Regions from separate parts of the Homo sapiens genome. Here regions 1 and 2 are each linked to region 3. The links are contacts of gene promoters, found by promoter capture Hi-C in human tissues and cell types (Jung and others, 2019). All regions are on one chromosome and are shown on one strand. Each heading gives the region's core, a stretch centred on a gene start or on the middle of the fragment in contact. The rest is flanking DNA. Distances are from core to core; before and after follow the strand shown.

Region 1 (3,455 bases), core at 109-2,608, 46 kb after region 3:
TTGAATGGTGGGTTGTAAGGATATAAGTAGAAGGATGTTTTCCAAATTTTCAGATTTATGAAGGCATGGCCTTTTGCAGAAACAATCTCAGGGTCCGTTGGAGGACTGTGGCTGCATGGACTCTGGAGCGCTCTGATAAAGATGTGCCAGACGCTGCGTGGATTCTGGAGCGCTCCCGGTGTGGGGTACTGCTCGCTGCATGGATTCTAGAACGCTATGACGAGGAGATGCCACGTGCTGCGTGGATTCTGGAGCACTCCGGGTGTGGGGTGCTGCTGGCTTCATGGATTCTGGAGCGCTCCGGGTGTGGGGTGCTGCTCGCTGCACGGGTTCTAGAGCGCTCCGATTAAGGGGTGCTGCGCACTTCATGGATTCTGGAGCACTCTGACGAGGGGGTGCCGCGTGCTTCATGGATTCTGGAGCGCTCTGGATGTGGGGTGCTGCGCTCTGCATGGATTCTGGAGTGCTCCGAAGACGGGGTGCCGCGCGGCTGCATGGATGCTGGAGTGCTGCGACAAGGGGATGCCGCGCGGCCGATAAGCAGGAGTGGGGAACAGTGCGCGTCTGGTCTGTGGCGCCTGCAGCGATTCCGAGCCAGGGAAAGAGAGCTGCATGGAGTGTGGGCGGTGCCCAGCCTTTTCCCAGCAGTGGAGGGGATGGGTCATCAAATTGCTATTGGGCGCGGTGGCTCACGCCTGTAATCCCTGCACTTTGAGAGGCTGAGGTGGGCGGATCAAGAGGTCAGGAGTTCGAGACCAGCCTGGCCAATATAATGAAACCCTGTCTCTACTAAAAATACAAAAGTTAGCTGAGAATGGTGGCACGCGCCTGTAGTCCCAGCTACTCAGGCAGCTGAGGCAGAAGAATCTCTTGAACCCGGGAGGCGGAGGTTGTGGTGAGCCGAGATAACGTCATTGCACTCCAGCCTGGGCAACAGAGCGAGACCCCGTCTCAAAAACAAACAAAACAAAACAAAACAAAACAAAACAAAAACTGTTATCTGGTTGTCAACTCGAGTGACCTCATGGGGTGGGTGGGGGCGAGGTTATTGTGCTTGGCGGATGGTTTGGGGCATGGGATGGCATCTAGGGATGGAGAAACCAGGGCAGGAAGGAGGGGAGTGTGGGGGAGCGTGAGTACAGAGGCAGCTGTTGTCTTCAGTGGATCACCGTGCAAGTGGGAGGGCCGAGTCTGCATGCCAGGTCACCAGGCAGCGGCTTTTTGCACTGTCTCGTTCCTACCCACACATGCACACCTTCCTCCTCGCCTACAAGTAGGGCCCAGTAGGGCCATGTCCCAGGTGATGATCCCAGATGACATCTGGACCCAGGCCCCAGTGCTGACTCACAAGGGGTCTTGACAGCACAAGGACCTCCAGGCCGATCCCTGGAGATGTTGGCACATCATCTCACCCCTCAGCCAAGTGTCTGGGAGGAGAAGTTTCCACTGGTCATGAGGGTCAGACCTGCCACACCACTTCCTGCACAACGTGGATTCTCCTCCTGTGTGGTCTCAAATCCTAAATGCCTCTCCCGGAGGAAGGGAGAGCCATGGAGTGGCCAGGAGCCCTGCCTGGATGGCCAGGGTCTCACTTCTGCGTGCACCACCGACCAGCTCTGTGGCTTTGGCAAGTTGTGTAATATCCCTGAGCCTCGGTGTTTTTAACCTGAAAAATGGGGCCAGTTGCGGCTCTCCAGCTCTGATGACGACGGTTTGATGAGATTGCGCATGGAAAGGTAGGGTACTGTGCCACCACATGGTGCTCCATGGAGTCTGGAGCTACAGGCTTCCTTACCATCACTCTTATTTGTCTTCCTCACTGGAATCCATCCTGACACTGAAGAGAGAAGTGCTCCATTGAGAGCAAGGGCAGGTAGGGAGAAAATACGAGATGCTCTACCAGACGCGACTCCCCCAGCAGGTCTGAGAGCTGGGGCTGTTGAAAGCAAAAGGAAAGAGAAGCAGAAATCTGAAAATAATGATGCTTTATTTGATTGACATCACATCATCATAAATGGCATCTAATTTCAGAAAACAAAGTTCAAGTCCGCAAAAAATGCATGTACAAATCTAAGGAGATAGGTCTACAGAAATAGACACGTGGCTCTGTGGTCCGTAAGGTGCAGTCAGGAACCTCACATCCTAGGGTCTGTCTGGGTTCAATGTTCCAGTGGCGTGAGACAACCAAGGAAACAGACACCCCAAAGAGCCGATGTTATTTTTGAATATATATATATGTATATACATGTACATATGTAAATATGTTGCCTTCATCTGTAACAGTGCAAACCTCTCACAGCGTGCAAAGCAACAGTGTTTCCTACAGTCAAGTAACTAAATCAGTGAAAAGTTATCCACACAGCATTATAAAAACATTATATAATTACATAGCAGATATATATGCACGCCTTTGCACGCTGATTAGAGTTACTTGCATTGACTTTTGCTTTAGAAGAAATAAAAAAGGAAAATCTTTAAATAGTTCTTCATCAAATAAAAGGTAACAATTTGTAACAGATTCAACTATGAACAGGTATTGCATCAATATGTCTACAATAGAAAAACATAAATATATAAAAACAAAGGCAAAGGGGTCAGCTACACATATTAACTTACCAAACATACATGTTCTATTGAAAAACTGATCCCCATTCACACCCTCCAGGTGGGAGGATAAGACTATAAAAATGGGAAGCCAGCGTGTGGGTGTGGTGTTCTATTTTATTAGCAATTTGGATGATAGGATGTTTTGCTACTGTTTTCAGTTGGCCAATGACATAATAGTGAGATACTGATTATTAAGCTTGGGAAGCTGGTAGGTCATGGAAAAGAGACCCCAAGATGCATAATGACAGACATGTAAAAATGCAAACGTGTAAAAATGAAATCACTGCCGTGGTTACTACTATATTTTCAGACAAACCAAATTGTGGTACCATTCAGATTAGACGGCGTTCAGGGATCTCCAGGAGTCCACGGATATGGGGTTGTCAACCCTAAACCCACGTACTTCATAATTTCCTAACCTTCCCCTTCAAGGCCAGATGCATTTCAACCTGCCAGAAGGGGCACATTAGGGCCCCCTAAGAGGCACGATTGTTTGAGTAACTTCCCCAGAAACGGACATGTCTGCTGCTGCCTCAGCTGCAGCACTCTCATTGGGCAAGCTGTTTTCTAGAGGCTCATAGGCAGGTGCGGTGAGCAGTGAAGAGTCAAATTAATTCTGAGCGCCGGCACTCAGAGCTTCAGAAGCCTCCTTAAAGGGAGATTTGTCTGGGGGACTAGAGGACTGGCCCCCACACAGGTCACCAGGGAGGGTCCTGCCTCACTGCTCGGGGGCTCACCAGCCAGGCCTCAGCATCTCTGCCCCACTCACCGGCCCTCATGGTAATGGACCACATGGGTCAGAGGTGACAGCAGGTGGCTTACACATTTCCAGAGATCTGATCTCGTAA
Region 2 (2,700 bases), core at 1-2,500, 41 kb before region 3:
TGTTTATTCCAGGCAATGTCCTCAAGGACCAAGCACAGAGGAGGCGTGGGGCCCCTGCAGTGCCCTCAGGGCAGCCTGACAGAGAAGCAGGGCAAACGGGAACTGACACAGCCTTTCGATTAAATGTCAATCTTTGATTTGACAATTTGGGGTCATTTTCTAAATCCAACTTAAATACAGAGCAGCTGGAATGTGAAGATGTCATTCCTGGGGTTCCTGCAGATTTCTAAGTATAAGACGAAGGGTGGGCATCCTTATAGAGGAGAATTGTTAGTGTGCGGGGGATCGAGGTGTGAGGGTGGAGAGAGGATCCTTTCTGCCAGCTCACCACCGCAGATGGGCTGTCCTGGAAGGACTTGGTCTCAGACCCTGAGTTAAAACGGCCTTCATTATCATGATGTCATTCATTCATCTAGCACATTTTTATCAAGGACTACTGTGTGTCCCCTGCTGTTCTAGGTATGGATAATGCAGCTTCAACAAACCACTGAGCTTGTCCAGGCCTAAAACACAGAACTTGCCACGGTCTCTCATCCTCCCTCACTCTGCGTTCCTCACAGCCTCCACATCTGCGAAGTGCAGCTTCTATTTCCCTGCTCTTCCTCCATCTCCTGCTCACCCTCTCCTCTGCACACTCTTTTCTCCTCGCATTCCATGTCTTTTCATCATTTTTGTCTTCAAATTCTCTTCTTTCTTAGGCAGCCTCAACTGATATTGATCATTTCATTATCACACTCCTTATTGCCAGAGGGTAGAAGTTGTGAGTCTCCACGGTCAGGCAGGGAAAGATCTTTTTAGCTCTTCCATGACAGAGCTCTCGGCTCAACATGTCCAAGACTAGGAGAAGAGAGGCAGGTGCCAGTCTCATCCTGGGCAATTGTGTGACCCTGGGCAGGCTTCTCTCCCCTTTCTGGATTCCAATCTTCCTTATTTTTAACAAAGACAACTTGGGCATTCATGTATTTTTAGGATTGATGAGGTAATTTAGGTGAAATGGCCTGCTCTCCCCAGGAGGGAAGAGTGCTAGTGGGAATTCTCCTGCTGCCCAGAGAGGCTTATACTTCTGGCCAGGCATCTGGACACTCCTTACATATTGTTTCCACCAGATTTGCCTGGTTCTAGGGGCAAGAACTGTAAAGGGCCTGAGATGTCACCCTACTTGCAAGCCAAAATTTAGCCTGCCACAGTTTCATGGGTGCTTTGGAAGACACGAGAGTCCTGGGTCAGAGACAAAGGACTCTATTCCTCACAGTGCAGCAAGGGGCACAAATATCCTGTTTGTGCTGGCTGCCTTTGCCTTCTCAGTCCCACAGAGGCATGTGGAGCAGCCTGTGTATGCCGCACGTGCAGGCAGTTTGCATTGCTGCTGCATATCCCAGAGTTAAGGGAACCCTCATCTTTACAGTGGTCTGCAAGCAGACCTGTGCAAACTTTGCTCTGGAGGAAGGCATTATATTTGTTAAACTGGACAGTAAACAAACCTGCCTCTTGCTCTGGAGGGAGACGCTATCTGTATCTTCCAAGGCTGTTTGCTCTACACACATTCTTGAAGAGATGATCTGGAATGAAAGCTGTCAGTGTCTGTGCACAGCAATTGTGGAGAATGGTGTATCAACATCCTGTCCTCGGCTGGACATGGTGGCTCACGCTTGTAATCCCAGTACTTTGGAGAGCCAAGTGGGGAGAATCACTTGAGCCCAGGAGTTTGACATCAGCCTGAGCAACATAGTGAGATCCCCATCTCTATAAGAAAAAATTTAAACAAACAAACAAAAATCAACATCTTGTCCTTGCATCTCCTCTGGGAGATCTCAGCACTACCTCTGCCTGCAAGCCCCCCGTGTGGGTTTCACCCCCTCCTCTGCAGGGAAACAGCCTTGGAAGTTGGGATGCTACTTCCCCTCCATCTTAGTGTCATAGGGCTGCTGAAACAAAGTCCCCAAAACTGGGTGACTTAAAACAACAGGAATTTATTGTCTCAGTTCTGGAGGCCAGAAGTCTGAATTCCAAGGTGTCATCAAGGCCATACTCCCTCTTAAACCCATAGGGCACCGTGCCCTGCCTCTTCCTAGCTCCTGGTGGTTTGCCAATAATCTTTGGCATTTCTTGGTGTGTAGATGCATTGTTCCCATCTCTGCCTTCATCTTCATGAGGCTGGCTTCTGCCTGTGTCTCCTCCCATCCTCTTCCCTTCATGCATGTTTGTCCCTGTGTCCTGATTTCTCCTTTTTGTTTTTGTGTTTTGGAGACGGAGTTTTGCTCTTGTTGCCCAGGCTGGAGTGTAGCAGTGCGATCTCAGCTCACTGCCACCTCTGCCTCCCAGGTTCAAGCGATTCTCATGCCTCAGCCTCCTGAGTAGTTGGGATTACAGGTGCCTGCCATCATGCCCAGCTAATTTTTGTATTTTTAATAGAGATGGGGTTTCACCATGTTGGCCAGGCTTGTCTTGAACTCCTGACTTCAGGTGATCCACCCGCTTTGGCTTCCCAAAATGTTGGGATTACAGGAGTGAGCCACTGCACCCGGCTGTTTTCCCCCTTTTTATAAGGGCAACAGCCACGTTGGATTAGGGCCCACCCTAATGACTCATTTTAACTAGATGACTCTGTAAAGACTCTCCAGGCCATCTCCAAATAAGATGCCATTCTGAGGTACTAAGAGTTAAGACCTCAACGTGTCTTTCTGGGGGATACTATTCAAC
Region 3 (3,519 bases), core at 625-3,124:
TCAACTAGCGATGCCACTCTATTGCAGACGTCCCATCTCGTGTAATGGTTTCCCAACTCTGTGGGCACTCAGTGTCCCTGCGTGGGGGCCTGAGCAGGATTCCAGGGAAGCATGCCTATGACAACACAGGCTTCCGCCAGGGCCAGGAGAGTGAGAGAGGCTGAGAAGTGGTCTCTTTTGCATGGGTCAGGTGGTCGCAGCAGGAATCCTGAAGGGGCTGCAGTGAGCGGTGGGAAGTCGAGTTGATGGGGAGGAAGCAGAGAGGAGAGGTGGGTGGGAATATGAGAGAAAACAATGACTCAGTCACTTATATCATGATGGTGACTAAAGTGACAGGGATGTAGAACAAGGAAACTGACCTTGCCAGAGTTTTCATGGATCGAGTCCCTGTGGTTGCCCAGTGGTGAACAGTCAGCAGAGAGCCTGGAGGTACTTGACCCGGACCCAGAGGAGCCCTGGAGGATGGAGCCTGGAGGACGGGGGCCTGGAGAATGAGGGTCTGGAGGACGAGGGTCTGGAGGAACAGGGGCCTGGAGGACGAGGGTCTGGAGGAAGAGGGCCTGGAGGACAGGGGCCTGAAAGATGGGGGCCTGGAGGATGAGGGTCTGGAGGATGAGGGTCTGGAGGAGCAGGGGCCTGGAGGATGAGGGCCTGGAGGACAAGAGCCTGGAGGACAGGGGCCTGAAAGATGGGGGCCTGGAGGATGGGGCCTGGAGGATGGGGGCCTGGAGGACGGGGGCCTGGAGGATGATGGCCTGAAGGATGAAACCTGGAGGATGGAGCCTGGAGGATGGAGCCTGGAGGATGAGGGCCTAGAGGATGGGGGCCTGGAGGACAGGGGCCTAGAGGATGGAGCCCTGGAGAATGGGGGCCTGGAGGATGGAGCCTGGGGGACGAGGGCCTGGAGGATGGGGGCCTGGAGTATGGGGCCTGCTCTCCAGACCCTGAGGACAGCCCCGTGGTGGACCAAGGATTTTGGGTTTCCTGCGTCTCTGGGCCCCTGACTGCTCAACCATCAGAAACAGACTGGCAACCCCCTGTCATTTCCCTGGCGTGGGGAACTTCGGGTCCCCTCTGTCCTTCCCACCACACTTTTCCCTCTTTCTTTCCGGGTGTCTACTCTCTGGCTTCTGTCTTCTCTGTCAGGTCCACAGAATCCTTCTCCAGCACATCCTACCCCAGGAAGGCCATGGGCTGGGTCCCAGGTGCCATCTTTCAGAAGATGTAGAGCATTCCCATGGAACAAAAATAACCCATTTCAGGGGTTGGCTGAAAATGAACTTATTAAAACCTGCCTGTCACAGGCTACTCCGCTGACCCTGTCAGCCTCATCTCCATGGAGAGCAGCCCCTCCTGCTGAAGATGGGACAAAGGGCATCGTGCTGCGGTTGGGGAGGCTCTAACCACAGCCCTGGGAGCAGTCTCTTACCTCCTCTGAGATGCTTCCCTTCCTCAGGGAGGGGACTTTTCCATGCTATCTGCTGGCCTGTACATTTTCCCCAGTAAACTTGGCCCTAATATTTTCTAAATTCCTGTGGTCCCTGCCCACTCTATCAATAGAAATGCATAGCTTATCCCTTCCTGGGTGTGACCCTGTGTGTGCCCAGCCCCAGACCTGCACGTGGCCGGTTTTCCACGCTGGCAGCCTGGCATGACCCAACTCTCTGTCCAGGGCAGGAAGAGGTATCACCGAGCAGGGAGAGAGTCACCCTGGCCCGGAAGCCTCGCCTGCACAGGGCACAGCTGCCTCTTGCCTCCTCTTCGCCTCCACGGTGGAAGGGCTGGGGCCACGGGGCAGAGAAGAAAGGTTATCTCTGCTTGTTGGACAAACAGAGGGGAGATTATAAAACATACCCGGCAGTGGACACCATGCATTCTGCAAGCCACCCTGGGGTGCAGCTGAGCTAGACATGGGACGGCGAGACGCCCAGCTCCTGGCAGCGCTCCTCGTCCTGGGGCTATGTGCCCTGGCGGGGAGTGAGAAACCCTGTAAGTGAAGGAGAGGGTCTTTTTATGTGCTTTCTTTATTTCTCTTAAAGAAAAAAAAAAAGCACAACCATAAATTAACTTGAGAGGGGGAATGGCTATAAAGGCATCTGGCAATGTGTGTTGTTCACATGGGATTTGCCACTGCTCAGGAGGGTGGCTCCAAGAAGGGCCTCCCTCCTAGGGAAAGGCTGAGTGACGGCAGGTGTCAGCGGGCCCCGTGTCGGGCCAGGAGGGCATTCCCACCAAGGGTCCTTGGAGTCCCAGAGCACTCACCTCTCGCCTGGATCTTGGCCTTGGGTCCATCTGTTCACCCTCCTCTAGGAGGGTTTTGTTTTTGTTTTTTTCCGAGACAGGATCTGGCTTTGCCGCCCAGGCAGGAGTGCAGTGGTGTGATCTTGGCTCACTGCAACCTCTGCCTCCCAGGCTCAAGTGATCCTCCCACCTCAGCCGCCTGAGTAGCTGAAACCACAGTTGTGGACCATCATGCCCGGCCAATTTTTTTTTTTGTATTGTTTGTAGAGATGGGGTTTCGACATGTTGCCCAGGATGGTCTTGAACTCCTGAGCTCAAGCAATCTGCCCGCCTCGGCTTCCTAAAGTGCTGGGATTATAGGTATGAGCCACCATGCCTGGCTTTTTTTTTTTTTTCCTTTTAAACTAATATAACAATTTCAGCAAAGCCCTATCGGCTTCTCAGGAGGAAACCGCATTGCTTAAATATGGGCAAGATAAGACTTTGTGTTTCTCTATGTGGCAACAAGACAGTAGAGGCATCCCCTAGAACCTCTGAGAGAAGGAGCAGTGTGGTCTGGGGTACCAGGGTGGGGCCGACTGAGGGTCTTTCCACAGCCCCCTGCCAGTGCTCCAGGCTGAGCCCCCATAACAGGACGAACTGCGGCTTCCCTGGAATCACCAGTGACCAGTGTTTTGACAATGGATGCTGTTTCGACTCCAGTGTCACTGGGGTCCCCTGGTGTTTCCACCCCCTCCCAAAGCAAGGTAATCTTCCAGGGAATCTTCCTGGGCCAGCAGCTGGCAACCCAGGACCCAGCTTCACAGGCGGAGCCCAGAGCAGGGGCCGGAGGAGGCCCAGTTGCTAGTCTAGGGTTAGCCTGGGTGGGTTAGTCTCGAGCTAGCCCCGGTTGGTTAGTCTGGGGCTAGCCCAGGTTGGTTAGTCTAGAGCTAGCCCAGGTTGGTTAGTCTGGGGCTAGCCCAGGTTGGTTAGTCTGGGGCTAGCCCAGGTTGGTTAGTCTAGGGCTAGTGTAGGCTAGTTAGTCTAAGGCTAGCCCAGGTTGGTTAGTTTGGAGCTAGCGCAGGTTGGTTAGTCTGGGGCTAGTAGCCCAGGTTGGTTAGCCTGGAGCTAGCCCAGGTTGGTTAGTCTAGGGCTAGCGTAGGCTGGTTAGTCTGGGGCTAGCCCAGGTTGGTTAGTCTGGAGCTAGCCCAGGTTGGTTAGTCTGGGGCTAGTAGCCCAGGTTGGTTAGTCTGGGGCTAGCCCAGGTTGGTTAGTCTAGGGCTAGTGTAGGCTAGTTAG

Evidence for each region. The method cuts DNA at HindIII sites, captures the fragments that hold promoters and counts their contacts. A contact is called where the count stands out against the background at its distance.
Region 1: a fragment that was not itself captured here is called in contact with the fragment with the promoter of TFF2 in region 3 in 2 of the 25 tissues and cell types used here (lymphoblastoid cells and mesenchymal stem cells).
Region 2: a fragment that was not itself captured here is called in contact with the fragment with the promoter of TFF2 in region 3 in 2 of the 25 tissues and cell types used here (mesenchymal stem cells and spleen).

The regions. Positions count from the first base shown.
Region 1 is chr21:42,302,903-42,306,357 of GRCh38, reverse strand. No RefSeq gene overlaps it. Among named protein-coding and RNA genes, the nearest start is that of TFF3, 11 kb to the left of the region's middle. The HindIII fragment of the contact is 3,935 bases long and covers 1-3,325 here.
Region 2 is chr21:42,390,273-42,392,972 of GRCh38, reverse strand. All of the region lies in intron 2 of TMPRSS3 (transmembrane serine protease 3), which reads left to right. Among named protein-coding and RNA genes, the nearest start is that of TMPRSS3, 4.4 kb to the left of the region's middle. The HindIII fragment of the contact is 6,154 bases long and covers 1-2,700 here.
Region 3 is chr21:42,349,349-42,352,867 of GRCh38, reverse strand. It overlaps TFF2 (trefoil factor 2), which reads left to right and starts at 1,874. Exons shown (of 4, transcript NM_005423.5): 1 at 1,874-1,989; 2 at 2,838-2,987. The coding sequence starts at 1,911. It overlaps LOC105372815 (a long non-coding RNA gene), which reads right to left and starts at 575. Exons shown (of 3, transcript XR_937755.3): 1 at 1-575. The HindIII fragment of the contact is 10,226 bases long and covers 1-3,519 here.